Regions from separate parts of the Homo sapiens genome. Here all the other regions are linked to region 1. The links are contacts of gene promoters, found by promoter capture Hi-C in blood cells and fetal thymus (Javierre and others, 2016). All regions are on one chromosome and are shown on one strand. Each heading gives the region's core, a stretch centred on a gene start or on the middle of the fragment in contact. The rest is flanking DNA. Distances are from core to core; before and after follow the strand shown. Region 1 holds the start of CUX1 (cut like homeobox 1). Region 2 overlaps CUX1 (cut like homeobox 1). Region 3 overlaps CUX1 (cut like homeobox 1). Region 4 overlaps CUX1 (cut like homeobox 1). Region 5 overlaps CUX1 (cut like homeobox 1). Region 6 overlaps CUX1 (cut like homeobox 1). Region 7 overlaps CUX1 (cut like homeobox 1).

The links. Contacts are between HindIII fragments. The CHiCAGO score rates a contact against its expected background, and 5 or more counts as called.
Region 2: a fragment that was not itself captured here is called in contact with the fragment with the promoter of CUX1 in region 1 in 14 of 17 cell types (M1 macrophages, endothelial precursors, M2 macrophages and 11 more); the score reaches 16.8 in M1 macrophages.
Region 3: a contact is called between a fragment that was not itself captured here and the fragment with the promoter of CUX1 in region 1, in 11 of 17 cell types (endothelial precursors, megakaryocytes, M2 macrophages and 8 more). The highest score is 22.1, in endothelial precursors.
Region 4: a fragment that was not itself captured here is called in contact with the fragment with the promoter of CUX1 in region 1 in 5 of 17 cell types (endothelial precursors, M2 macrophages, M0 macrophages and 2 more); the score reaches 7.9 in endothelial precursors.
Region 5: a fragment that was not itself captured here is called in contact with the fragment with the promoter of CUX1 in region 1 in 6 of 17 cell types (M2 macrophages, M1 macrophages, endothelial precursors and 3 more); the score reaches 12.3 in M2 macrophages.
Region 6: a fragment that was not itself captured here is called in contact with the fragment with the promoter of CUX1 in region 1 in 4 of 17 cell types (naive B cells, M2 macrophages, M1 macrophages and 1 more); the score reaches 7.2 in naive B cells.
Region 7: a fragment that was not itself captured here is called in contact with the fragment with the promoter of CUX1 in region 1 in 10 of 17 cell types (M2 macrophages, endothelial precursors, erythroblasts and 7 more); the score reaches 12.1 in M2 macrophages.

The regions. Positions count from the first base shown.
Region 1 is chr7:101,815,942-101,819,396 of GRCh38, forward strand. CUX1 (cut like homeobox 1) reads left to right here and starts at 1,685. Exons shown (of 24, transcript NM_181552.4): 1 at 1,685-1,728. The coding sequence starts at 1,699. RefSeq lists silencers at 695-854, 965-1,284, 1,355-1,434, 1,465-1,534, 1,585-1,634 and 1 more and an enhancer at 1-869. The HindIII fragment of the contact is 10,531 bases long and covers 1-3,455 here.
Region 2 is chr7:102,254,298-102,257,752 of GRCh38, forward strand. CUX1 (cut like homeobox 1) reads left to right here. Exons shown (of 24, transcript NM_181552.4): 24 at 1-3,455. Among named protein-coding and RNA genes, the nearest start is that of SH2B2, 31 kb to the right of the region's middle. The HindIII fragment of the contact is 349 bases long and covers 1,325-1,673 here.
Region 3 is chr7:102,237,865-102,241,319 of GRCh38, forward strand. It overlaps CUX1 (cut like homeobox 1), which reads left to right. Exons shown (of 24, transcript NM_181552.4): 23 at 1,456-1,720. LOC124901711 (a long non-coding RNA gene) reads right to left here. Exons shown (of 3, transcript XR_007060458.1): 3 at 2,688-2,774. Among named protein-coding and RNA genes, the nearest start is that of SH2B2, 47 kb to the right of the region's middle. RefSeq lists a silencer at 2,197-2,266. The HindIII fragment of the contact is 5,463 bases long and covers 1-3,455 here.
Region 4 is chr7:102,214,781-102,218,235 of GRCh38, forward strand. The region is part of intron 20 of CUX1 (cut like homeobox 1); the gene reads left to right. Among named protein-coding and RNA genes, the nearest start is that of SH2B2, 70 kb to the right of the region's middle. The HindIII fragment of the contact is 5,756 bases long and covers 1-3,455 here.
Region 5 is chr7:102,190,137-102,193,591 of GRCh38, forward strand. All of the region lies in intron 12 of CUX1 (cut like homeobox 1), which reads left to right. Among named protein-coding and RNA genes, the nearest start is that of SH2B2, 95 kb to the right of the region's middle. The HindIII fragment of the contact is 2,866 bases long and covers 238-3,103 here.
Region 6 is chr7:102,157,466-102,160,920 of GRCh38, forward strand. It overlaps CUX1 (cut like homeobox 1), which reads left to right. Exons shown (of 24, transcript NM_181552.4): 9 at 1,095-1,143. Among named protein-coding and RNA genes, the nearest start is that of SH2B2, 130 kb to the right of the region's middle. The HindIII fragment of the contact is 7,216 bases long and covers 1-3,455 here.
Region 7 is chr7:102,086,439-102,089,893 of GRCh38, forward strand. All of the region lies in intron 4 of CUX1 (cut like homeobox 1), which reads left to right. Among named protein-coding and RNA genes, the nearest start is that of SH2B2, 200 kb to the right of the region's middle. The HindIII fragment of the contact is 2,352 bases long and covers 373-2,724 here.

The DNA of each region.
Region 1 (3,455 bases), core at 435-2,934:
TTGGCGCCGCCCGCCTGCTGCCTCCTGGCGGCTCCTGAACTCCAGCCCCCTCTCTATCAGCCGCTCACTCCGTCTCAATATGTCTCAAGATGGCGGCCAATGTGGGATCGATGTTTCAATATTGGAAGCGCTTTGATTTACAGCAGCTGCAGGTCAGGCTCCTCCGCGCTCGGCCTCGCGCCCGGGGGTGGGGGCTGCGGGCGGTCGCGGCCTCCGCCGGGGGCCCCGGGCTGGCCCAGCCGCCGGGGGGCCCGCGGCGGCGGGGAGGAGGGGGGTGCCGGGCACCGCGGGGCCGAGTCGGGGCCGAGTCCCTCCCGCTCCCCGGCCCCCATTGATCACTCGCTTGATCGGAAATTGATCCTCTTTGTTCAATTCATCGATCAGCCCAAGATGGCGCCGGGAGCCGCCGCCGCCACCACTGCCCCCGGTGTCTGCCCCCACCCCGGGCGCCCCCCCGGGCCCCGCGCCGCCGCCGCCGCCAGCGCCGCCGCCGCCGTTGCCGCCGCGGGACCGGGGAGGGGGCGGCCCCGGCGGCCCGCGGGGTGCGCGCGCGAGCGGGGAGCGGGGAGCGGGCGGCGGGGGGCGGGCGGCGGCGGGCGCCGGGAGGGGGCCGCGGCCCGGCGGTGGCGCCCGCCCGCCCGCTCGCCCCGCGCCCCCGGCCCGCCGTATTCCCGGGGAAAGTTTGTGGGGAGTTGCTGCGGGGGGTGAAGCGCCTGCCTCTCCAGGAGGAGCCGCCGCCACTGCCGCCGGCGCGGCGGAGCTGGGGCTGGTGGCGCTGTGGTGCCGCCGGCTCGGGGGAGGGTCAGAGCGGCCACCGGCGGCGGCGGCGGCGGCGCGGCCCGGCTCCGGCCAGGCGGGCGGGTGGCCGGGCAGGCGCCCGCGCTCGCTACCCCCGGCCGGCCCCGGCCGCCGCCCCCGGCTGTCACCGGCCCGGGCCGCGCCGCCGCTCCGGCACCCCGCGTGTGGCTCCCGGCGCGGACCCCCGGGTTTGTTTACGTCCCGGGGAGCGCCCCGGGGCCACCCGCGCACCTCGCGGCCGCCGCGCTCTTTTGTGTGCCTGTGTCGGTGACGCGGACCTGTTCCTCCGTGGCGGACCCCCGCGGGGGCTCTTTGGGGAAACTTGGCGAGGGGCGGCGGGGGTGCCCCGCGCGCAGTGTCGCTGGGTCCCGGTGTCCCGGACCGCCGGGTGCGGGCGCGGGAGGAGGAGGCTGCAACTTTCCCCTAGGCAGGCCCCAAGCTGTTCCCCCGGGTGCCCGGGCAGTGTACGCTGCCTCCCCGCCGCCGGTCCGAGCCGCGATCGCCGCGCGCCTGGGGGCTCCGGCGGCCCCCGGTGACCTGCGGCGCCGGGTCCCTTCCTTGCGTCCCCTCGGGGCTTCTGCCCTCTCTGCAGGGCCCGCCATGGAGCGCGCGGCGGGTGCGCTCGGAGATGCCTTCTCGGGCCGGGTTCTCGAAAGCAGAGCCCCGGGGGCCCGTTGGGACCGTGGCATGCCGGGCGGTGGTCCGCGCGCGGAGTCCCCGGCGCCGCGGGGGGACCGTGCCGGGGCTCCCCGGCCCGCGCCCGAGTCGCCGCCGTGCCCAAGGGGCGAGTGCCTGCCTGCCACCCCCCGCCCGGAGGAGCGGCGCACCCTTAGGGTCCGCCCCGCACGTGCCAGCTCGGCGCCCGCGGCGCCGGGACAGCCCCGGGACTCTGCCAGGTGGATGTTGTGCGTAGCCGGAGCCAGGTTGAAGGTGAGCGGCGTGTGGGCCAGAAGTCCCGAGGTTGCAGGCGCGGAGGGAACCGGGGATGTCGGGGGGTGCCCGGGTCCCGCGGCTTAGAATGCTCTAGGGCGGCCTGGTGCTCTGGGAGGGGATAGGAGGGTTCCTCAGGGCCCCTGGGGAACTGCAGCTACTCCCAACTGCTAAGGTGTGCGTGAAGATAAACTTGGCTGAACTTTCCTAACCTGGAGGACTGGTGACAGTGACCTACCGCAATACCTTTGGGAGCAAAGCTCGAGATGCAGGCTTGTATCAAACGAAGCGGGTTGGATTAAAACATATTTAAATGGAATCTGACAACTTTAATTGTATATGCTTGTTTTCTGCTCTTGCCTACTAAGAACGATAAAGCCGAGTCATAGTCGTTATGAAATTTCCTGAAATTTCTCGCTTAACTAGGAAGAAGACTATGCGAAATATGTATTTCCGATAAGATTAAAACTTAAAGGAGTTTAAGTATTTATTGACTAAAATAGATTACTCCAAAGTGTCTATTGTGTAAATTAGATTCCTGGATGTAATGAACACAGCCGAATGGCATTTTTGATAAATTGGTCTACCCTGTTTTAGTAAAAATAGCTCCCTTTTACCATAATTTAATTCCTGTGCTTACTGTAAAACCCGTTGTGGAGTTTTAAGGACAAACATTATTATTATTTTTCTCTCTTGTCTTCCTAAATGTGACATCCTAGCTTAATATCAATGAAGTGTCTTTTTTAAAGCATCCTGGCAAAATTGCCTGGAAAATGGATTTGGTTTCTAGAGTTACTAGATTTTAAGAACTCTAAACCTTCCTGTCCCCCATATTAGCTACTTCTTCAGGGGATCAGGGCTCCAGGGTTCCATCGAAAGTTTCCATGTCAGTTTACTTGCACTTTATGTGGATATTAAGAAGAAATCAAAACCAAACCCCAAAACAAAGTCCCTTATTTGAACTTCATTCCTCTTTACTCCTTTGCTTTTGGTGGTTGCTAACGATTTGGCCTTAGATGATTTCCTATGGGTTTGCAAACTTTAGTCGAATACGGAATGTCAAAGTTCAAGTCTCAGGCCAATCTGGTTCTTTCTCTGGGCGGTGAGGAGGCCTTTGGAGTTGGTGTCTGGTTAATTCCCACCGATAGTCAGTGAGTCAATAGAACGAGTTTGGGAGAGAATTCATTAGTTCCAGATTTTTCTCATTTTTCCAGACCTCTTTATACTGAGATTGGGTTGCCACCTGGGGGTAAAGAGGCTGATCGGTCTTTGCAGAGAGAAATCCAGGTTGGAGACGTCAGCGGGTCCAGGTGAGGTTGGGCCGTTCCGCAGTTCTGCAACCCTGGCTCACTGGGTTCTTGTCCCTCGGCTTCCTGGGTCTTGAAGCTGCTGCCTTGGCACAGGAGTGTGTGCTCAGGAAGAGAATTTCTGAAGATTGTGTTTTATTCCGTTTCCTTTTTAGTCCCAAAGGCTTGTGGTATGGAAGTTTCAGTGCTTTGGTATTGCTAAGACTAGTTGGACAAGTTTTTTATCCTATCTCAGACTTGTAAAAACCAGGTTTTCTTTTCTTTTTAAATAAGAAAAGCACTGTTGTATAAATTTGTCTTTTAAATACATATTTGAAAGGAGGACACTTTCTAAGACAAAGCTCATGGCACTCTGTATGTTAGTGGAGCTTTGAACTCTTTGGGACGGGGCCCGCCAATGACTGCCTTCCCTTTGGGACA
Region 2 (3,455 bases), core at 249-2,748, 440 kb after region 1:
AAAGTTCCCAGCTGGCTTTGGGGAACACTGTAGCTCTTGGGTGTCTCTTGTCTCTGGCATGGTTTTAGCGTCACTGCGAACACTCCTTTGCAAACATCAAACATCTCAAAGACGGAAAAGGATAGATGGCTTCCTCCAGCCTACACGCCCCGTCCACAGTGGCATCACCCTCTTATCCCAAAAGAATATGCCAGTTCCCATCCAGCACCGAAGAAAATCAGCTCCTGGGGCTGGTGGTTGGAGGTGGGTCTGTCCACTGTGGGGGCCAAAGTGTTCCCCTGCTGGAGACAGTTTGCAAGTAAGAACCTAAGGATGGGGACAGCATCCTGTGCTTGGGCATTGACCAGCCAAAGCTCACATTTAGAAAGCCCTCAGTGCTTCTGTGGTTTCACCTGGGCATCGACGACATTAGGGAAGCCTTTGTGACCACAAGGGCAGGGCTTGTGCCCTGAGTGGCGAGGTGGTGACCTGAGGCCAGTGTGATGTGGTTGGATCTCAGCGTGTACTGAATGCCAGTCTGGCCGGCACACTCGAACGCTAAGAGAATGGTCCAATTTGATGATCTTATTTCTATTTCGATCAGGTTTTGACTTTTTGTAGATGAAAACTACCAGGGAAAAGGGGAAGCAGGTACCCAATAAAGTTTAGAAAGATCCAGTCTGTGAAACCCTTAGAGATGGGCTGAAAGTTAAGTCCACCAACCCTTGGGCTTAATCAGGACGGAAGAGGAGGGGGTGTGGGGGGCAGAGCGTAAAACAAGCCCCAGCCCTACTCCCGGCCCCCCAGCCCAGTCTTCCCAATCCCAGAGGCCCCGGCGGCCTGTGCTCCTCACCACCCTGGTCAGGGGAATAGAAGGAAATGCAATTTCCGCCTGTCTGCCCGACTTCCAAAAACTGCCTCCTCCTGCCCAGGCCTCTCCCACCACCACCTTCCCTCCAAAGATAACCGTGTCCATGCCATCCGTGGCATCATCTCGAGTTTTCATTTTTGGATGAAGTGACATTTAGCTTTAACAAGACATTTCCAAAGCGCCTAGTCTCCTCCAAAATGCTAACTTTAAAAGTTGGGCATTGTAGGCGAAAAATCCCAAAAAAAAAAAAAGACAAAAAAAAAAGGCTGGCGAGAGAAAGACATTTGGCTATGCATAAATGTGCACTTCCCCCATGCCCCCGTTCTTAAACTCTTAAGATGCCTTTGAGTTGCTTTTCATGAATCCTTTTAGTTTACCCGATAATGTTAAGAAAGCATTAGTCTACGTTACTGTAATTTCTGTAGTGTTTACGCTTTAATTTCTACCACAAAATATGCTATATGCTATGTATCAAGCTTTCTGTAATCAGAAAGAAAAGGTGCCTTATATCCCAATGTCACGGCTACATCCCTATGGAAATTAATCAGAAGCACAGTGTGTACGGAAGCATTGGGACTTCTGCTGGTGAAACAAGAGACCATTCAGCAAGACACATTGAAGTGGCACGGAGCTGCTTTTGTTTTATAATTCTTTTTTCCCCCCTTTTCCTTCTTCTTTTTTATTATTTTATTATTTTTTTTGTACTTTGCTTTAAACGGAAAGCACTTAAATAGATGACTATGTGTAAAAGCTCTGTGCAATTGAAATCATTTTTCTTCATTTTAAAAAAATAACGTATTGCACACCAAATGAACTCAAAGTAAGCTTTAGACCAGGACGATTCAGGTTATGAATGAGTTTGTTCACTGTAGTTCCGTTTGTTCATGAACCGAAGGGAAAACAGGCCTCCCCGACTCCCTCCAGTCTCCCAGCCTGCCTCTTGGTGACCACTGTGCTGGGCGTGCAGGGCCCGCGGGCTCTGGCCGGAGCCGCTGGCCTGACGAGGCAGGATAGGGAGTATCCGTGATTCAGAAGCTGAGACCCTTCCCCAGTGTCTGAGGCCACAGCCATCCCTTCCAGCACTTAATCTTGTCTTGTTGAAATGGACTGACTGCTACTGACCTGCCGGCGTGCGTGAGGGTGATTATAAAAGGATGTTTCCTTGAGAAAAAAAAAATTATTTCTATCCTCTTCTATTTATTATTAGGTTAATCATTTAAGTACTTATCAGGAGTGTATTGTTATTTTGTGTTTTGTTGTCATAAATGCTTTTTGCTGTCACTCTAGTGGTTACTATCCTCTGCCTTCCTCTCCTCCCCTACTCCCCCAGAGAACCAAGGCGTCTGGGGGATTGACTGGGGGGCAGAGGGGGTTTCCCCAGCAAAATCAAACACCTGTCTCCAGAGTAGCCACTCAAAAACTGGTGGTCTCTATGTGTCTAACTTTTTAAATGAGAGTGTTTATGAACAAAAAAATTTACCAACGTGTGAGGGAGTTGCTGAGTTGAAGAATGCTCGCTTGAGGAGCTTCAGAGGAATCTTAGCAAAGCCAAGTTCAGTTCCCCAAAGCCTCCTAGAGCCTCTGGTAAGACTTCTGGGTTCATGAAGTTTCGGCGAGCCGTGGTCAGAGAGGGCGCGGTGGCCTGGCCAAGACTTTACCTCCAAGCGAGAGAGTGATTTCTTGCAAGGCCCGCATGGGTTGATACGTTTTGGTTGGTTTTTTGTTGTTGTTTTTCTTGCGTACAAAGTTGGTCAAAACCATCTTTCAAAGCAACAGTGTTTTGTAGTACCAGGCTGTGGCTTGAGGGCTCACCTAGGAGATCATAGGCAGAGGGCCCCTTTCCCCTATAGGTGGTTCAACGTGGAGGAAGGTTGGGTGTGGAGATTGCTTGCTGTGGCCCCAAGCTCAGCCAGCAGGACACCCAGTTGTTGCCAATCAGGTGTGAAGGTGAGGCGCCCTGCCTTGATCCCATGGGCCCAGCAGAAGGAAACTTACCCCAGGCCAAGGCAAGGGCCCTGCTCACCCCAAGGTAGGCTGGGAAGAGCATCTCTTTCCATATCATCACCTCCCCTTCTCCAAGATTGCCGGGGGCCCTGATTTTGTTCTCTCTTTGAAAGAAACCCTCCACCGAAACAATGGTCCCCATCTCCCCAGAAGCCTTTTTTTTTTTCATTTTTCTCTAATTAGTCTATGCATTTCTCTCTCTCAAACCATCTTCTGCCTCTTCCCTTGAGAAAACGGGCATCTCACGTACCCCCATCTGAGACCTCTTGGAAAAAAAAAATCCCGTGTATTCTGGAGATGTGAGAATTCACCCAAAATTCTTAAAACATTGGAGAATAGCTTGTTATAAAATAAAAGTGGGGGTAAAAAGAAGGTGGTTTTCCCCACATCCCTTTGCATTGAATAAGAGACCTAGTTCTTTGCGTTTGTGCAATAACTCTTTGCTGCTTGCCTTGAGAGCGGGTAGCACCACGCTCCTGTCCAGACTACTAACAGCACAAGACGCACTCACAGGGTGGCGGAATCTTCCGGAAAACTCTCTATAAGCTCAGCTCCCCCCACCCCACCCCCACTCTAGCGTTTTGTCACGTCTTACATTTTA
Region 3 (3,455 bases), core at 309-2,808, 420 kb after region 1:
CAATCATAGGTAAGGCCACGTGGGTCACATGTCCACTGGACAGGGGGCCCTTCCCTGCCTGGCAGCCGAGGCAGAGAGAGAGAGGAGACAAAGAGAGAAACAACCTACACCATTATTAGAGACTTTTAGTACTTTCACTAATTTGCTACTGCTATCTAGAAGGCAGAGCCAGGTGTACAGGATGGAACATGAAGGCAGACTAGGAGCGTGACCACTGAAGCACAGCATCACAGGGAGATGGTTAGGCCTCCAGATAACTGCGGGCAAGCCTGACAATGTCAGGCCCTCCACAAGAGGTGGAGGAGCAGAGTCTTCTCTAAACTCCCCCGGGGAAAGGGATACTCCCTTTCCCGGGATACTCCCTTTCCCGGTCTGCTAAGTAGCCTGTGTTTTTCCTTGACACTGAGGCTACCGCTAGACCACGGTCCGCCTGGCAACGGGCGTCTTCCCAGACGCTGGCGTTACCTCTAGACCAAGGAGTCCTCTGGTGGCCCTGTCTGGGCATAACAGAAGGCTCGCACTCTTGTCTTCTGGTCACTCCTCACTGTGTCCCCTCATCTCCTATCTCTGTATGGCCTGGTTTTTCCTAGGTTATGGTTATAGAGCAAGGATTATTATAATATTGGAATAAAGAGTAATTGCTACAAACTAATGATTAATGATATTCATATATAATCATATCTAAGATCTATATCTGGTGTAACTATTCTTGTTTTATATTTTATTATACTAGAACAGCTTGTGTCCTCGGTCTCTTGCCTCGGTACCTGGGTGGCTTGCCGCCCACACCCAGGCCTGGCCGAGGAACTCTTCTCAGTATCCCCATGGTCTCTTGCACTTACTTACCCCCACCCCACTTTTCACTCTGCTGGGAACATCTCTCTGGATACTTCTCTGCCTCCCCTACTAAACTGTTAAGTTGTGCAGGGACAGGTGAGGACCTGACATTCCGTCAGAGCAGGTCCTTGGTGAGCATGTGCTGGTAACAGAATGGCTCTCATCTTAGCGTTGTTTCTTTTGTTTTGTTTTGTTTTGTTTTGTTTGAGACGGAATCTTGCTCTGTTACTCAGGCTGGAGTGCAGTGGCACCATCTCATCTCACTGCAACCTCCACCTCCCAGGTTCATGCAATTCTGCCTCAGCCTCCCTAGTAGCTGGGATTACAGGTGCGTACCACCACGCCCAGCTGATTTTTGTACTTTTAGTAGAGACGGGGTTTCACCATATTGGCCAGGCTGGTCTTGAACTCCTGACATCAAGTGATCTGCCTGCCTCGGCCTCCCAAAGTGCTTGGATTACAGGCATGAGCCACCATGCCCAGCCTCATCTTAGTGTTTTGAGATGCTCTATGCAAAGTCCTGCAAGCCGGCACTGTGCCGTCCCGCTAGCGGGACTGGGGATTTGGGCTGCTGTCCCAGCTGGGCCTGACCTTAGTCTGCCATCTCTTCCTCCGCAGCCTACATGAAGCGGCGGCACAGCTCAGTCAGTGACAGCCAGCCCTGCGAACCGCCCTCTGTCGGCACCGAGTACAGCCAGGGCGCCAGCCCCCAGCCCCAGCACCAGCTGAAGAAACCCCGGGTGGTGCTGGCTCCGGAGGAGAAGGAGGCGCTGAAACGAGCGTATCAGCAAAAGCCATACCCGTCACCAAAAACCATCGAAGACCTCGCCACCCAGCTCAACCTGAAAACCAGCACCGTCATCAACTGGTTCCACAACTACAGGTACGACGGCTGGCTCACAGGGAGCGCCGGTCGGCCCAGGGGAAGGGGCTGATCTGTCCGGAGGCCGCCATGGCGCACAGGGGTGAGGCTGGGGCCGGAGGTGGGGCGCTGGGAGCTCGGTGATTGGTCCGTTCCTTGGTCCCTTAGGGTTTTTTTTTTCTTTTCTTTTCTTTTCTTTTGAGATGGAGTTTCAATCTTGTTGCCCAGGCTAGAGTGCATTGGCGCAATCTCGGCTCACTGCAACCTCCGCCTCCTGGGTTTAAGCAGTTCTCCTGCGTCAGCCTCCCAAGTAGCTGGGATTACAGGCATGCACCACCAAGCCCGGCTAATTTTTGTATTTTTAGTAGAGACGGGGTTTCACTATGTTGGTCAGGCTTGTCTCAAACATCCTGACCTCAGGTGATCTGCCCACCTCGGCCCCGCAAAGTGCTGGGATTACAGGCGTGAGCCACCACGCCTGGCAGTTCCTTAGGTGTTATTGGAGGTTTTAACTGCAGAGATGTAAGGCCACGTCCCTTCCCGTCACTGTCACATAGTTAGAAACAGGTGGTATCTGCCATGACCCAGAAAGAAAATCACCTCTCGATTACATCATTTAATAAGGGAGAGTGTAGGCATTCATGGTTCAAAAGGAGTGAAACTTTTGTGGTTTAGTTTATATATATCTATATTTATAGTTATATTCATATTTATTTATTTTTAGAGACAAGGGCTTGCTCTGTCACCCAGGCTAAAGTGCAGTGGTGCAATCATAGCTTACTGCAGGCTGGAACTCCTGGGCTCAGGCAGTCCTCCCACCTCAGCCTCCTGAGTAGCTAGGATGCCAATGCACCACCATGCCTGCTGATTTTTTATAGAGACAGGGGTCTCGCTCTGTTGCCCAAGCTGGTCTCAAACTCCTGGCCTCAAGCAGTCCTACCACCTCAACCTCCCAAAGCCTTGTGATTATAGACATGAGCCACCACACCTGGCCTGAACTTTTATTTCTTAGTGATTTTGCAGTGCTTTCTCGGGGTCTTCTGCCATGTTATCTTCCAAATTAGTTTGATTAGTTCTGTAATTAAATAAATGAAGTCATTTAAGACCTTTGCATTTGGGAAAGTTCATGAGTTAATGAAGACAGATTGAGCATCTTCTAGATCTCAGATTCTGAGCTAAGTATTTCACCGAGTTATATCACTTAATCCTCACAGCTCACAAATGTATATGAGATACCTTATTCTTGTCATTCCTTTTTTGTTGTTGTTGTTGTTTGAGACGGAGCCTTGCTCTGTCGCCCAGGTTGGAGTGCAGTGGCACGATCTCGGCTCACTGCAGCCTCCTTCTCCCAGGTTCAAGCGACTCTCCTGCCTCAGCCTCCTGAGTGGCTGAGACTACAGGTGTGCACCACCACGCCTGGCTAATTTTTGTATTTTTAGTAGAGACGGGTTTCATCATATTGGCCAGGCTGGTCTCGAACTCCTGACCTCAAGTGATCCGCCTGCCTCGGCCTCCCAAAGTGCTGGGATTACAGGCATGAGCCACCGCACCCAGCCAGTTCTCTTCATTCTACAGATGAAAAATATAGAACTCAGAGGGGCTAAGGAGGTCAGGCCCCAGTGCTGTCTTGGTAGAACAAAGTGCACTGGGATGAAGTGTTTGGAGTAGATGGAGGAAACCCACTGAAGGATCCTGAGTTGCTGATCATAGCTATAACCATACTCTCTGCTGCTAGAAACCAAGAATTCCAGGGCCC
Region 4 (3,455 bases), core at 568-3,067, 400 kb after region 1:
CCAGGCAGGAGGCTTCCATCGGGGCCTCCTCTAGATTTTGCGTTTACTTCTTCCCTTTGGAACCGGATTCCTAAATATAGCCCGAGTCTGAATTGGCAGATGTTGGGTCTGTCCTTTCCTTGACGGCCAAAATTAGTCTGTCATTTGGCACCTAAATAAAGCAGCCAAACTACCTTTATACCAGCTTTGCAATTAGGCGGTAGTTGGAACATTCTATTTGATAAGGAAACTTTTATGGATGCCTTAGCAGCACCTCTGAACCCAGGAGGCTGAGGAGAGAGGACACCCGGGCCCCAGAGGGACACTCCTTCCTCGCCATCAGGCCTTCTCATTCCAGAGTTAAGGTCAATTTTGTTCCATGTGGCTTAAAAACACCTCGTGAATGTGGAAAAGACAGTCAATGCTCCCCAGAAATAGCATTCTAAGAGCATGGCAATGGTTACTCCAACTTTTTTTTTTTTTTTTTTTTTTTTTTTTTGCAAGCAAAGAAAAATCTGTCCAGAGTGCCTGGAGCTGGGTTAGTGCAGGGACTCCCCAGGGGCAGCAGAAAGATGTTATAATCAATTATCACATCATAACACTGATGTATGATAATTACTGAGTGTTTCTCCTGAGATAGTGCAGCATTTGGCTGGGATGCCGCTCTTTCACGGTCCACTGCCTGATTAATATGCAAATAATAGGCTGATTGCATGATGAATGCAGAAATGAGTTCGCTGATAACGTGAGCACCGAAGCGGGAAGATGATAAATTACTTTTACTGACTGTCCTACATTAAGTACCCTTTCTCAACAATTTCATCACAAATTAAGTAAAGCAGTATGGAGAGATTAGGAGGACGTGTAAAATAATGTACCTTAATGGTTTTTCTAATACCATCGTGGAAGACGAAAATCTCAACTTGGTTCTGCCCGGGTCTTTGTAGGGCCAAGTGAGTTCACTCACCTGGGCATTGAGTGGAAGACAGGAGGCACCCCACCACACCGGCGTGTTCCACGGGCCATGATCAGCCATGGATTCTCTGAGGAATATCCCATTGCAGCCCAGACATTACCCGCACACTGGGCCAACAGGCAGCATCATGGAGGGAGGAGGACAGGCTGCTCTCGGGGCAGACGCAGCATCCTCCACACAGATGGGCACCCCCAAGCCTGCTGTCCACCATGTGCCTGCAGGAAAGGAGCATTTCTGGGCTGCAGGCCTGGAAGACTCGGAAAGAAAACAACATTTAAGACCTCCTGCCTGGGCACAGTGGCTCACGCCTATAATCCCAGCACTTTGGGAGGCCGCAGCGGGAGGATCACTTGAGGCCGGGAGTTTGAGACCAGCCTGGACAACATGGGGAAACCCCATCTCTACAAAAAATACAAAAATTAGCCAGGCGTAGTGGTGTGCATCTATAATCTATAGTCTATAGTCCCAGCTACTTTGGAGGCTGAGGCGGAAGGATCATTGGACCCTAGGAGGTGGAGGTTGCAGTGAGCTGAGATCACGCCACTGCACTCCAGCCTGGGCAGCAGAGCAACACCCCATCTCAAAATTTAACAAACAAAAAAAGACCTCCTTGACCTCTTTTTAGCTCTTCCAAGTCTCAGAAATCTGGAAAAATTAATTTCACTATTAGAATGGCAGTGGGCACACCGGCCAGAGAGCATGACTTGGTAAGGGATGGGTAGGTTTGTCCAAAGCCAGAATTGAACCCTTGAGAAAAAGAGGGCGTGCGTGTGTGCGCGCACACACACACTCTCCCCCCCACACACACACACCCACACACGCACACACACTCCCACACACACACTCTCCCACACACACACTCCCACACACACACACACACTCCCCACACACACACCCCCACACACGCACACACACACACTCTCCCACACACACTCACACACACACACTCCCCCACACACACTCCCACACGCACTCTCCACACACACATGCACACAGAGTCCCACACACACTTCTGCACACACACACTCTTCCACACACACTCTCCCACACACACACTCTCCCACACACACCCCCACACACACTCTCCCACCACACACACACACACATTCTCTCTCCCTCACACACACATTCTCTCACACACACATTATCTCACACACACACACACACACACATTTGCAGTGATTAATCTTTGATTACAGCAAAGCAATTTAACTAGAGGCTTTGTTTTTTCCCGTCTTAGTAATATATATTTAGACTGTTTGTATGACATACATTTTGTCTTAATGCACAGGGACGCATTGATAAGTGTTCGTACACACAGCTGGCTTGGTAATAAGGTTATTGAAGGTAATTTGAAAGCATCATTTCTAAATCAGTATGGATCTGCAGAAAAGCCGGAACAAGGCGAGCCTGTGCCCCTGAAGCAGGGCCATCTGTGTCACCCAGTGTCCCTTCAGCAATCTGGCCAGACTGAGTTCACTACCAAAATCGAATTGTAATTTAAGCAGGGTTTTTAATTTTTAATATCTTCAAGCTCTGCTTTTGATATGCTTATTTCCTTAAGAGCTTATAAAAGATACACAAGCCAACTGAGCCCAGAGGGAAAGTGACTTTCCACTCCGAATCCCCGGCAGGTCCCCTCCCCGCCCGCGGGTGAGCTCTGGTTCTGCGCAGGTTCCCGCCAACCACAGGGCCTCATCACCTCTGCAGCTTCCTCCTCGTGCATTTCAGGCCAACACAGAATTTCTAAGATCATTTCTCCCCACCGTACCTTCCCATGTCGGGGAGATGAAAGAGGAGAGTCGAAAACCATCCCCAGAGGGAGGGAGGCTCCAGATGGATGCCATGGTGTCTAGAGGGAGGGAGGCTCTGGATGGATGCGATGGTGTCTAGAGGGAGGGAGGCTCTGGATGGAAGCAATGGTGTCTAGAGGGAGGGAGGCTCTGGATGGACACGATGGTGTCTAGAGGGAGGGAGGATCTGGATGGACGTGATGGTGTCTAGAGGGAGGGAGGCTCTGGATGGATGTGATGGTGTCTAGAGGGAGGGAGGCTCTGGATGGACACGATGGTGTCTAGAGGGAGGGAGGATCTGGATGGACGTGATGGTGTCTAGAGGGAGGGAGGCTCTGGATGGATGCGATGGTGTCTAGAGGGAGGGAGGATCTGGATGGACACGATGGTGTCTAGAGAGAGGGAGGCTCCGGATGGATGCGATGGTGTCTAGAGGGAGAAAGGCTCTGGATGGACACGATGGTGTCTCCTCTAGTTAGAGGAGCTCATGGTTGACTTCTCAGAGCAACTTCTCACTCGCTTGGCAGCAGGGACCTGTCACACCCCTGTGCTGTGGCCAGGACCATGTTGCCTGCACTGCTGCACCTCCAGACCCTGCCCTGACACTGCTCTCCCCAGAAACACCCTCGTCCCAGACTCTTTGTTTGAGTGACCTGCTTAGTGACTTCGGCCTCCCGCTTTGGTTACAAGATGTGGGGGCGCAGGGT
Region 5 (3,455 bases), core at 421-2,920, 370 kb after region 1:
CATAGGGCTTTTACAGAAATGATCAAATATGACCTTGTTTTGCAACTATAAATTCCCCAAACAGAAACAAAGCACAGGAGGGAAATGTTTTCGGGTTGAAGGTGGGCATATGGCCTCACGCTGCCCCGGCCTCCTGGACTCAGGAACTCTGTCTTCCAAACTCTATTCTCCATCTGTGAGGCTGTAGCCGAAAGCTTATCATCTTTTCAGGGCTAATGATGGCATTCTCAGTTCTCAAGCTTCAAAGTTCCTTTCTCGGCCAGCAGCCCCCACCTCTGCCTCCTCACCCTGAGCCTGCTTTGGCACTCTGGAGCTCCCAGGTCCTGGTCTTTACCTGTCCCCCCACATCCATAATGCTCCAGGCTCACTGACCTCCCCTGCAAGCCTGGAGCCTGTGGTCAGACCCTCTACGTTCATACAGCTCCCCTGGATCGTCAGCCATTCCAAGCCTTCCCACTGGCATGCCCGCCTCACTCCTAGGTTATTAAGCACTGCAAACGAAGGTTGCCTAGGGCATGGTGACCAGCCCCACAGGTCCCCCGTGCTTCTCGCGGCTGGAGCTCTGCTGGTTCGAGGCTTCCTCAGGGGTTCCTCCCTGCCCTTGTCACTGTTACCCCAACCACTATCCACAGATGCCCTAGCCCTCTGCTAGGGACAGACTCCCGCCTCTGGTCTTGGGTGCCACCTCCCATCTCTGCAGGCTGCCCCCTCTGCCTAGACCTTGAGTCCCTTCCTTCCTGCCCCTCCTGCTGTCCCATCAGCCCCTTTCTCTCTTGCTGCTATTTTCCATTTCTCCTTTTAAGATGAGCCTACACCCACTCACCACGTTTTCTTTGTGTTGTTAATTCCATTCTGCTAAGAAAAGCTCCTCGGGCATCCTCTTGAACCATCTCACTTCCATGACCAGCTGCCTTCTCTCGCCTGGGACCCCCAGCCTCCCTGGCGTCTGCTGGCCCTGGTAGTCCCTGTCCCCACCATGCTCTCCCCCTGAGCGGTCTCATCCCCTCTCCAGCTGCAAAGCCTCTGCCGGCACCTCCTCGGACAGACCCCTACATCCCTCTAACAGTTCCAGCCTCTGTAACTTACTTACTTGCTTGCTTACTTATTTATTTATTTGACAGAGTTTAGCTCTTGTTGCCCAGGCTGGAGTGCAATGGTGCTATCTCGGCTCACCGCAACCTCCGCCTCCCGAGTTCAAGCGATTCTCCTGCCTCAGCCTCACAAGTAGCTGGGATTACGGGCATGAGCCACCACCCCGGGCTAATTTTGTATTTTTGGTAGAGATGGGGTTTCTCCATGTTGGTCAGGCTGGTCTCAATCTCCCGACCTCAGGTGATCCACCCACCTCAGCCTCCCAAAGTGCCGGGATTACATGTAACTTATTATTAAACATTACCTGGTTAACCTTCTCTACCTGCCTCTCCTATCCCATTCTTTCCTTCCTTTCCCTCTTCTTCCCTCTTCCAAAAAGAAAAAGAAATTGGGCCTTTTAATTTTGAGCCAGAGAAACTGCTGCGAAGGCCTTTGCCCAGCCTCACCCTGGGAGTTAGTCGTCGTCTTCATTGTCGTCTTCGTTGTCTTCTTCTTTCTTCCTCTCTTCTTCTTTCTTCCTCCTCCTCTTCTTCTTTCTTCCTCTTCCTCTTCTTCTTCCTCTTGCTCCTCCTCCTCCTCCTCTTCTCCCCCAACCCCCACGTTCACTTCATCCCCTGGGAGCTGAGGCTTCCAGGCTCCAGCCTGCAACACATACCGTTCTACTCCCTCTCATCCACAGCCTGCCGGACCACAGGCTGCCCCTACCCCCACTGAAGGGCTGCCACACCAGCCCCGCTTGTCACTGCATTTCTGCTAACTCTTTCTGTTGCGTCCGCACATGACAGGCCCCACCACCATGTGCACATCTGGAAGCCCCACTCAGGTGGCTTCTTTGCCCAAATGCGCTCCTAGTTTTCCACTTCCTGGTGAACCAGCTGTGCTCTTGAGCTCTTGCCCGCGTCCCCTTCTCAGCATCGTCCCATTTCCACTTCCTCACCCCCACGCAACAGGGGATGCTGACCTCAGATCCTCATGCACTGCAGCACAAGACACCCTGTCCCTTCAGGGCCCTTCTCCAATGCTTGTTCATCATGACACTGAGACGTGGTCTCCAATCCATCAAGATCCCTCCTGCTGGGGTCCTCACAAGTTCTGTCTTAATGGACCACTTGGAGTCTTGCCTATTACCTGTAATGGCCTGTAAATTTCCTGGAGTACGGACCAGGAGTGGTTCTGATTCCCCACGGCAACAAGCGGATAGCAGGCTGCTGGTAAAGATCTGTAGAATAGATAAAGAGCCACGTGGTCTTTTATTACATAATCCTAAAGAAAATAGGAAACGAAGGACAGGATTCCATCTTAAGAAACCCCTTTCAGCTGGGCGCAGTGGCTCACATCTGTAATCCCAGCACTTTGGGAGGCCGACAGATCACCTGAGGTCAGGAAACCAGCTTGGCCAAAACCGTCTCTACTAAAAATAAATTATCCAGGTGTGGTGGCTCACACTAGGGGGACAGAGGCCGAAATTGTGGCTGCAGGAACATGGCGAAGGTCCGGTTGACTCTGCACCTGCGAGTCGTAAATCTCACGGTCCAGCCAGCCTGCTCTGGGTCTCTCTCTTCCATCCTTGGTATTTCAAAGAAACACTTGCAGCTCCTTCAAAGCCACATAGCCTCACTTCCCCTCTTCTCCCTGGTAAACTCAGCAAAAAAGGGACATCCACAGCAAAAGGAACTCAAGAAACAGTAATAATCCTGGGGACCTGGACTCACTGAGACAGCCCAGAGACCGTAGTGATCAGGGTGCGGCCCTTTTCAGTGCCATTGAGAACAAGGGAGGGAGAAGTCACCTTCTCTTGCCACATCTTTGTCATTGCACTCCTTCCCCAACCTGGGGCTGCAGAGAAGGTCTGCCCACCTGGCTTCTGAGTCATCCAAGTCTAGGAGGTTGCTCTTTGCCTATGTCCCCTGGTCCCCAGGTAGGTGCCAGTTAGGAGTGAGGTGTGGGCAGTGGCCGCCCTGGTGGGTTCCCCTCTCTCTGGCTTCTCCTTACAACTTTTTCCTTCCCTTTAAGCTTTACAAATACATTCCACTTGCAACAATGTTATGTCTGTATTAAACTTTAAAATTATACTCTGAACAGACCTGGTGTGATTCCATATGGAATGATTTACATGCTAGGCAAGAAACTTTTGCCAGCCAACTGCTAGTTGAATAGTTATTCTAGAGACATTATCAGATTCTATTACTGCCAGGGAAGTTGTTAAAGTTGACAGTTCTTCGGTTCCTGGAGAGCAGGAAATTGTAATGTTAATGCTTATTAATGTGGCTGTTGTCAAAGGTATAAGTAGAAAATAATCACTCTGGTGGCTCATGCCTGTAATACCAACACTTTGGGAGGCTGAGGCGGGTGGATCACTTGAG
Region 6 (3,455 bases), core at 497-2,996, 340 kb after region 1:
GTTGGCCGTGCCCTTCTCAAAAGGACTCTCCAGGCCGGGCGCGGTGGCTTATGCCTGTAATTCCAGCACTTTGGGAGGCCAAGGTGGGTGGATTACCTGAGGTCAGGAGTTTGAGACCAGCCTGGCCAACATGGCAAAACCTTGTCTGTACTAAAAATACAAAAATTAGCCGGGCGTGGTGGTGCACGCCTGTAGTCTCAGCTACTCGGGAGGCTGAGGCAGGAGAATTGCTTGAACCCAGGAGGCGGAGGTTGCAGTGAGCCGAGATCTCATCATTGCACTCCAGCCTGGGCGACAGAGCTCTGTCTCAAAACAAACAAACATACAAACATAAAAGCACTCTCCGCATTCCTCTCTCATGATGCTCTGTGTTGGGTTCGCGTATTTGCCTTCAGATTACTCAAGGAAGTACTTTCAAAACAGAAAAAGGGAAAGACAGAACCTGGACAATTGCTTTTACGACCAGGCTGGGCCATAGCAATGAACCCAGGCTGTCTGCACTGCAGCCTGTACAGTCCCCCAACCTGTGTCACCATCCTCACCTGCCCTCCTCACCTCCAGTTGGCCACCTTCTCCTGGTTTCCTCATTCCTGGTGAGGCTTTCACTGCCAAGTGCCTTTTCCTAAAGTAGCCTTTCCCCAGCTCCTCCTCTCACCCCCAGCCTGGCAAACTTCTACTCATCCTTCAAAACCCCACTTACCTGTCACCTCCTCTGCAGCCTTCCTTGATTCCCTCCCACAAAGAGAATTTATTTCTCCCTCTTTTTTTCAGAGCACTCTGCTCAGAGCTCTTTTTGAACCCTTGGCAGGACATGCTGTATTTTATATTTTTATGGTTATGTCTCCCCAATGAGATTGGGACCCCATCAAAGGCAGGCACCCCATACGCACCAGACACATGATTATCAAAAGAGCGCATGGCATCAGCAAGCACATCTCTTCCCCCAGTGTGAGCCCACCTCCTCCTGCTGGACAGCATTGACTCACGGGTCTGCACAGCCCTTCCCGAGCCCTGAGCTAGGAAGCTGTCCCATCAGTCACCCCCTGAGCCGGTCTCCTTGTGACTAACCTGCTCTCTCCCTCTCACCCTCCTAGGGCCGACGAGATTGAAATGATCATGACGGACCTTGAAAGGGCAAACCAGGTAGGACCCTGGACGCTTTTAGTCCTAAAACCCACAATAGCGGGCCCGTTTCTGGCATCTCGGAAGATGCGTCACCCGAAGTTAGAAGGCCGGTTATCCTTCCATTTTTTACTGACAGCTTTCAACGTCGATGCTCCTTCTGTTGTCATGAGAAGTAGGAAAAGACATAAAAAGTCCTAGGAACCATTTCCTTGGCAAAGTCTTTGATGTGGTTCCAACATCTCAGACATCCCATGGTGAACATCCCCTCCAAAGTGGTAACTGTCTCCTTTTCCCTACTCCATCTCTAAACACCCGTCTTTGTAGCTGTGGCATCCATGACAGTGTAGACATCTCACCATGGAATTATCCTCGGAGAGTTCCTTAGTGTAGACATCTCACCACGGTGTTATCCTAGGAGAGTTCCTTAGTGTAGACATCTCACCACGGTGTTATCCTAGGAGAGTTCCTTAGTGTAGACATCTCACCACGGTGTTATCCTAGGAGAGTTCCTTAGTGTAGACATCTCACCACGGTGTTATCCTAGGAGAGTTCCTTAGTGTAGACATCTCACCACGGTGTTATCCTCGGAGAGTTCCTTAGTGTAGACATCTCACCACGGTGTTATCCTAGGAGAGTTCCTTAGTGTAGACATCTCACCACGGTGTTATCCTAGGAGAGTTCCTTACCGCCACGTTCTCATGGGTCGCAGCCACTTGCTCCAAAGAGGGCTCTCAGCTGACGGCCCCTTTTTGGCTGACACTTGGTGCTCAGAGAGGCCTTATGGCAAGTACCCAGCACAGTGTCCGGCCCAGATCAGGCACAGGACGCATCTTAACCATTAGCGTACTTTTGGGTGATTCTAAATACTCTGCTTCCTGGAAAATTCAGCCATCCCCAAAACCCCTTCCTCCCCCCAGGAGCCCACAGAACAGGAAAACATTTTGCTTTAGCTGGTGCTGCTGTTGCTCTGAAAAGAAAGTGGTCCCCCAGCCGGGCACAGTGGCTCACGCCTGTAATCCCAGCAGTCTGGGGGGCCAAGGTGGGAGGATCACTTGAGGTCAGGAGTTTGAGACCAGCCTGGCCAATATGGTGAATCCCCGTCTCTACTAAAAATACAAAATTTAGCAAGGCGTGGTGGCAGGCGCCTATAATCTCAGCTACTCAGGAGGCTGAGGCAGGAGAATCACTTGAACCCTGGAGGCAGCAGTTGCAGTGAGCCAAGATCTAAGCCTGGGCAACAGAGCAGAAACTCCATCTCAAAAAAATACAAAATAAAATTTAAAAATAAATTTTTACTACCCAGCCTTGGGCTGGGTGTAGTGGCTCACGCCTGTAATCCCAGCACCTGGGGAGGCCGAGATGGGTGGATGACTTGAGGTCAGGAGTTTGAGGCCAGCCTGGCCAACATGGTGAAGCCCCATCTCTGCTAAAAATACAAAAATTAGCCGGGTGCGGTGACATGCACCTGTCATCCCAGCTGTTCAGGAGGCTGAGGCAGGAGAATCACTTGAACCCAGAAGGCAGAGGTTGCAGTGAACCAATCATGCCACCATACTCCAGCTTGGATGACAGAGCGAGAATCTGTCTAAAAAAAAAAAAAAGCAGTTACTGGAAGGAGTTACCTTCATCATAGATCACTATTCCTATTTCTCAAGTTTCCACCGACTCCACCTCTCTCCTCAAGGCCAGTCTTGGGCATGCCTTGCCTTTAGATGGCACTTTAGGGCAATCTAATGTGCCCAACAGGAGAGCCTGGTTTGTTAAACGGGAGAGCCTTATCCTGTGAATATCAGTGCTCTATCCAGAACAGGTTCTCTGTGGTCTCAGAGGCAGTCCCCAGCTACCTAAGAAGTTTGGCAAAGCGAATGCACTTCTCAAGGTGCCAAAGCCACTCGGTGGACCCCAGTCTTAGGAGACACCAGACAAGGCTGTAGGGACAGGTGCTGGCTCCGCAATGACACGGGTTCAGTTCCTAACTCGGTATTTCCTGTGTGGCCTTGACGGGTCTCTTAATCTCTTAAATTTCTTGGTCATAAAAAAATCAAAAGAAAAGTGAACCTTGAGGCCATTATGCCAGGGGAAATACGCCAGTCACAAAAAAAGACAAATACTGAATGATTCCACCTGTATGAAGTATCTAGAGGAGCCAACTTCAGAGAGACAGAAAGTGCCACGGTGACTGCCAGGGACGAGGAGAGGAGGGAAATACGAAGTTGTTGTTAAATGGGTACAGAGTTTTGGTTTTGCAAGATGAAAACATTCTGGGGATTCATTGCACAACCACGTAAACGTCCTTGACGCTACTGAAAAGTACGCTAATGGTTAAGATG
Region 7 (3,455 bases), core at 299-2,798, 270 kb after region 1:
TGTACATCGATGAATGTTCCATGTGTACTTAAAGAGAATGTGTATTCTGTAGTTGTTTGAATGGCATGTTCTAGAAAAGTGAGCTCTGTTTAGTTAGTGGTGTTCTTCAAGTCTCTTATATCCATATTGACTATATAAAAATCATAATATTAATTAATGTGAATGGCTTTTTTCGTTGTTTTTTTTTTTGAGACAGAGTCTCGCTCTGTCGCCCAGAGTTGAGTGCAGTGACACGACTTTGGCTCACTGCAACCTCTGCCTCCCGGGTTTATGCAATTCTCCTGAATGTGGATGGCGTTTTGAAATCTAATTATTATTTTGGATTTTTCTTTTTTCTTTCAGTTCTGTCAGTTTTTGATTTGCATAGTTTAAAGCTTTGTTTTGGGGCAAATATACCTTTAAGATTATTATATCGTCTCTCAATTGTTTGATTCTTTTAAGTTTATACAATGACCTTCATTATTCCTGGAAATATTCCATATCGTAAAGTATTCTTTTTCTGATTTTAATATAAGCACTCTGGCTTTCTTTTGATGAGAGTTTTTATGTTATATATTTTTCTATACTTTTACTATTAACCTGTCTGTATCTTTATGTTTAAGTTATGTAAATACCTACATCTTGCTTTTTTATCCATCCTATCTGCCTCTTAACTGGAATGTTAGATCATTTACATTTAATGCAATTATGGATAAAGTTGGATTGAAGTCTACCATCTTACTTTTTCTATTTGTCTTGCCTGTTTTTTCTTGTATTTTTCCTGCTTTTGATTAACTGATTTTTTTAATGTTTTTATCTCCCCAATTATCTTATTAGCTATAACTCTTATTTTCTTAAGGGTTACTTTAAAGTGAAAAGTAAGCCAGCCATGATGGCTCACACCTGTAATCCCAGCACTTTGGGAGGCCAAGGCAGGCAGATCACCTGAGGTCAGCAGTTTTAGACCAGCCTGACCAACATGGAGAAACCCTATCTCTACTAAAAATACAAAATTAGCTGGGCGTGGTGGCACATGCCTGTAATCCTAGCTACTCAGGAGGCTGAGGCAGGAAAATCTCTCGAACCCGGGAGACAAAGGTTGCGGCGAGCTGAGTTCGTGCCGTTGCATTCCAGCCTGGGCAACAAGAGCAAAACTCCATCTCAAAAAAAAAGTGAAAAGTAACCATCTTTAACTTATCATTTTATACCTTCAAATAATACACCATTTCACATACAATATAAGAATCTTATAATACATTGTCACTTTCTCACTCTTGTTCTTTTGTGCATTTTTACTGATTTTACTTCTACCTATACTACAACGCTATAATACATGGTTACTATTTTTTCTTTAAACCATTAACTTTTAAAGAAATTAAAAATGAAATTATAATATTTTATTTTTACTCATCTATTTACCATTTCCAGTGTTGTTTATTCCCTTGCGTGGATTCAAGTATGCACGTGAAATCATTTTCTTTTGGTCTATAGATCTCCTTTTAACATTTATTATGATATAGGCACACTGGCAATGAATTCTGTTAGCTTTCATTCATCTGGGGAAAAAATACCTTAATCTCACCCTTTTTTTTTTTTTTAAGACAGAGTCTTGCTCTGTCACCCAGGCTGGAGTGCAGTGGTGCAATCTTGGCTCACTGCAACCTCCATCTCCCAGGTTCAAGTGATTCTGCTGACTCAGCCTCCCCAGTAACTGGGATTACAGGTGTGTGCCACCATGCCTGGCTAATTTTTGTATTTTTAGTAGAGACGGGGTTTCTCCATGTTGGCCAGGCTGGTTTCAAACTCCTGACCTCAGGTGATCTGCCTGCCTTGGCTTCCCAAAGTGCTGGGATTACAAGCGTGAGCCACCGCGTCCAGCCACCTTCATTTTTAAAGAGTATTTTTTGTCAGATATAAAATAGTTTCTTGGGTCTGCCAGTCATGGTGGCTTATGCCTGTAATCCCAACACTTTGGGAGGCTGAGGCGGGCAGATCGCTTGAGGTCTGGAGCTGGAGACCAGCCTGGCCAATATGGTTAAAGCCCTGTCTCTACTAGAAAAACAAGAATTAGCTGGGTGTGATGGTGCACACCTGTAATCCCAGCTACTCGGGAGGCTGAGGCAGGAGATTCTCTTGAATCCAGTAAGCAGAGGTTGCAGTGAGCTGAGATCGTGCCGCTGCACTCCAGCCTGGGTGACAGAGCAAGACTCTATCTCAAAAGAGAAATAAAATAAATAAAATGAAATAGTTTGTTGGTGGTTTGGGTTCTGGTTTTTTCTCTCTCTGGACTGACTGTTTCTGAGACAGGCGATCTCCAGTAATTCATATATATTTTTTTAACCTATATACAATTAATCTTTTTCTCTTCACCATTTAAGATTTTCCTTTTCTAATTTTGATTTCAGAAACTCTCTTACGCTTACTGGTGTTCTTTGGGTTTATCCTGCATGGAGTTTGTAGAGTTTCTTGAATTTTTAGGTTTATAGCTTTTATGAAGTTTGGAACATTTTGCCACTGTTTCTTCAAATACACCCTTTCCCTCTTTCTGGGAAATGTATGTTTGGTTGCTTAATTTTGTTTCATAGGTTGCCGAGGGTTTACTAACTTTTTTTTTCAATCTTTCTGTGTATTTCTGTTTGGTTTGTTTCTGTGACTATATCTTTAAATTCACTGATCTTTTTCTTTCACTGTGTCTAATCTATTGTTCAGCCAATCAAGTGAATTTTTTCCATTTCACATACTTTAAGCTTCAGAATTCGATTTGATTCTTTATGTTTTCTGTTCCTCTCTGTATTGTATTCATATTTTTCTTTAAATCCTTGGACATGCTGATAATAGATGTTCTAGTCTGCTTCTTCCATTATCTCTTGTCATTTCTGGTTCTGTTTTTATGAAGTGATTTTTCCCCTGATCATCCTGCTGCTTTGCATGTCTAGTAATTTCCTATTGAATTTTAGACATCATGAGCTTTAACTGGATTTTGTTGTCTTATTTAAGTTTGGGCAGGCAGTTAAGTTACTTGCAGGTCAGTTTGATCATCCTGAGACTTGTTTGTAGCTTTTTGGAGTGGATATGGGCAAGCCTTGAAGATGAGTTTAGCCCTCCACTCAGGTGGGACACTTCCAGTGTCTTTACTCTTCAACAAGTCCTTGCTCTTCAACAAGTGTGTCCTCTCTGGCTGGTTGCAGTTGGAAAGTCCTCCAGCCCTCAAACTGTGGGAGGTTTTCAGCTCAGACTTTCCTTTCTATTCTTGCCTGGCCTTAGGAGTTTCACCCTGTGCATAGGCACTTTAGCTCTTGGCAAAAGATCGCCTCTCTGCAGATTTCTGTAGCTCTTGTCCCTCCTTTTCACACTCTGCCTTGCAAATTCCAATTGCTGCAGCCACCCAATCTTGTGATGTGTGTCCTTCAATGGACAGGGAGACCATCACACTCCGCTTGGGTTTTTTTCTTCATTGTGATGCAATCCAGAGAGTT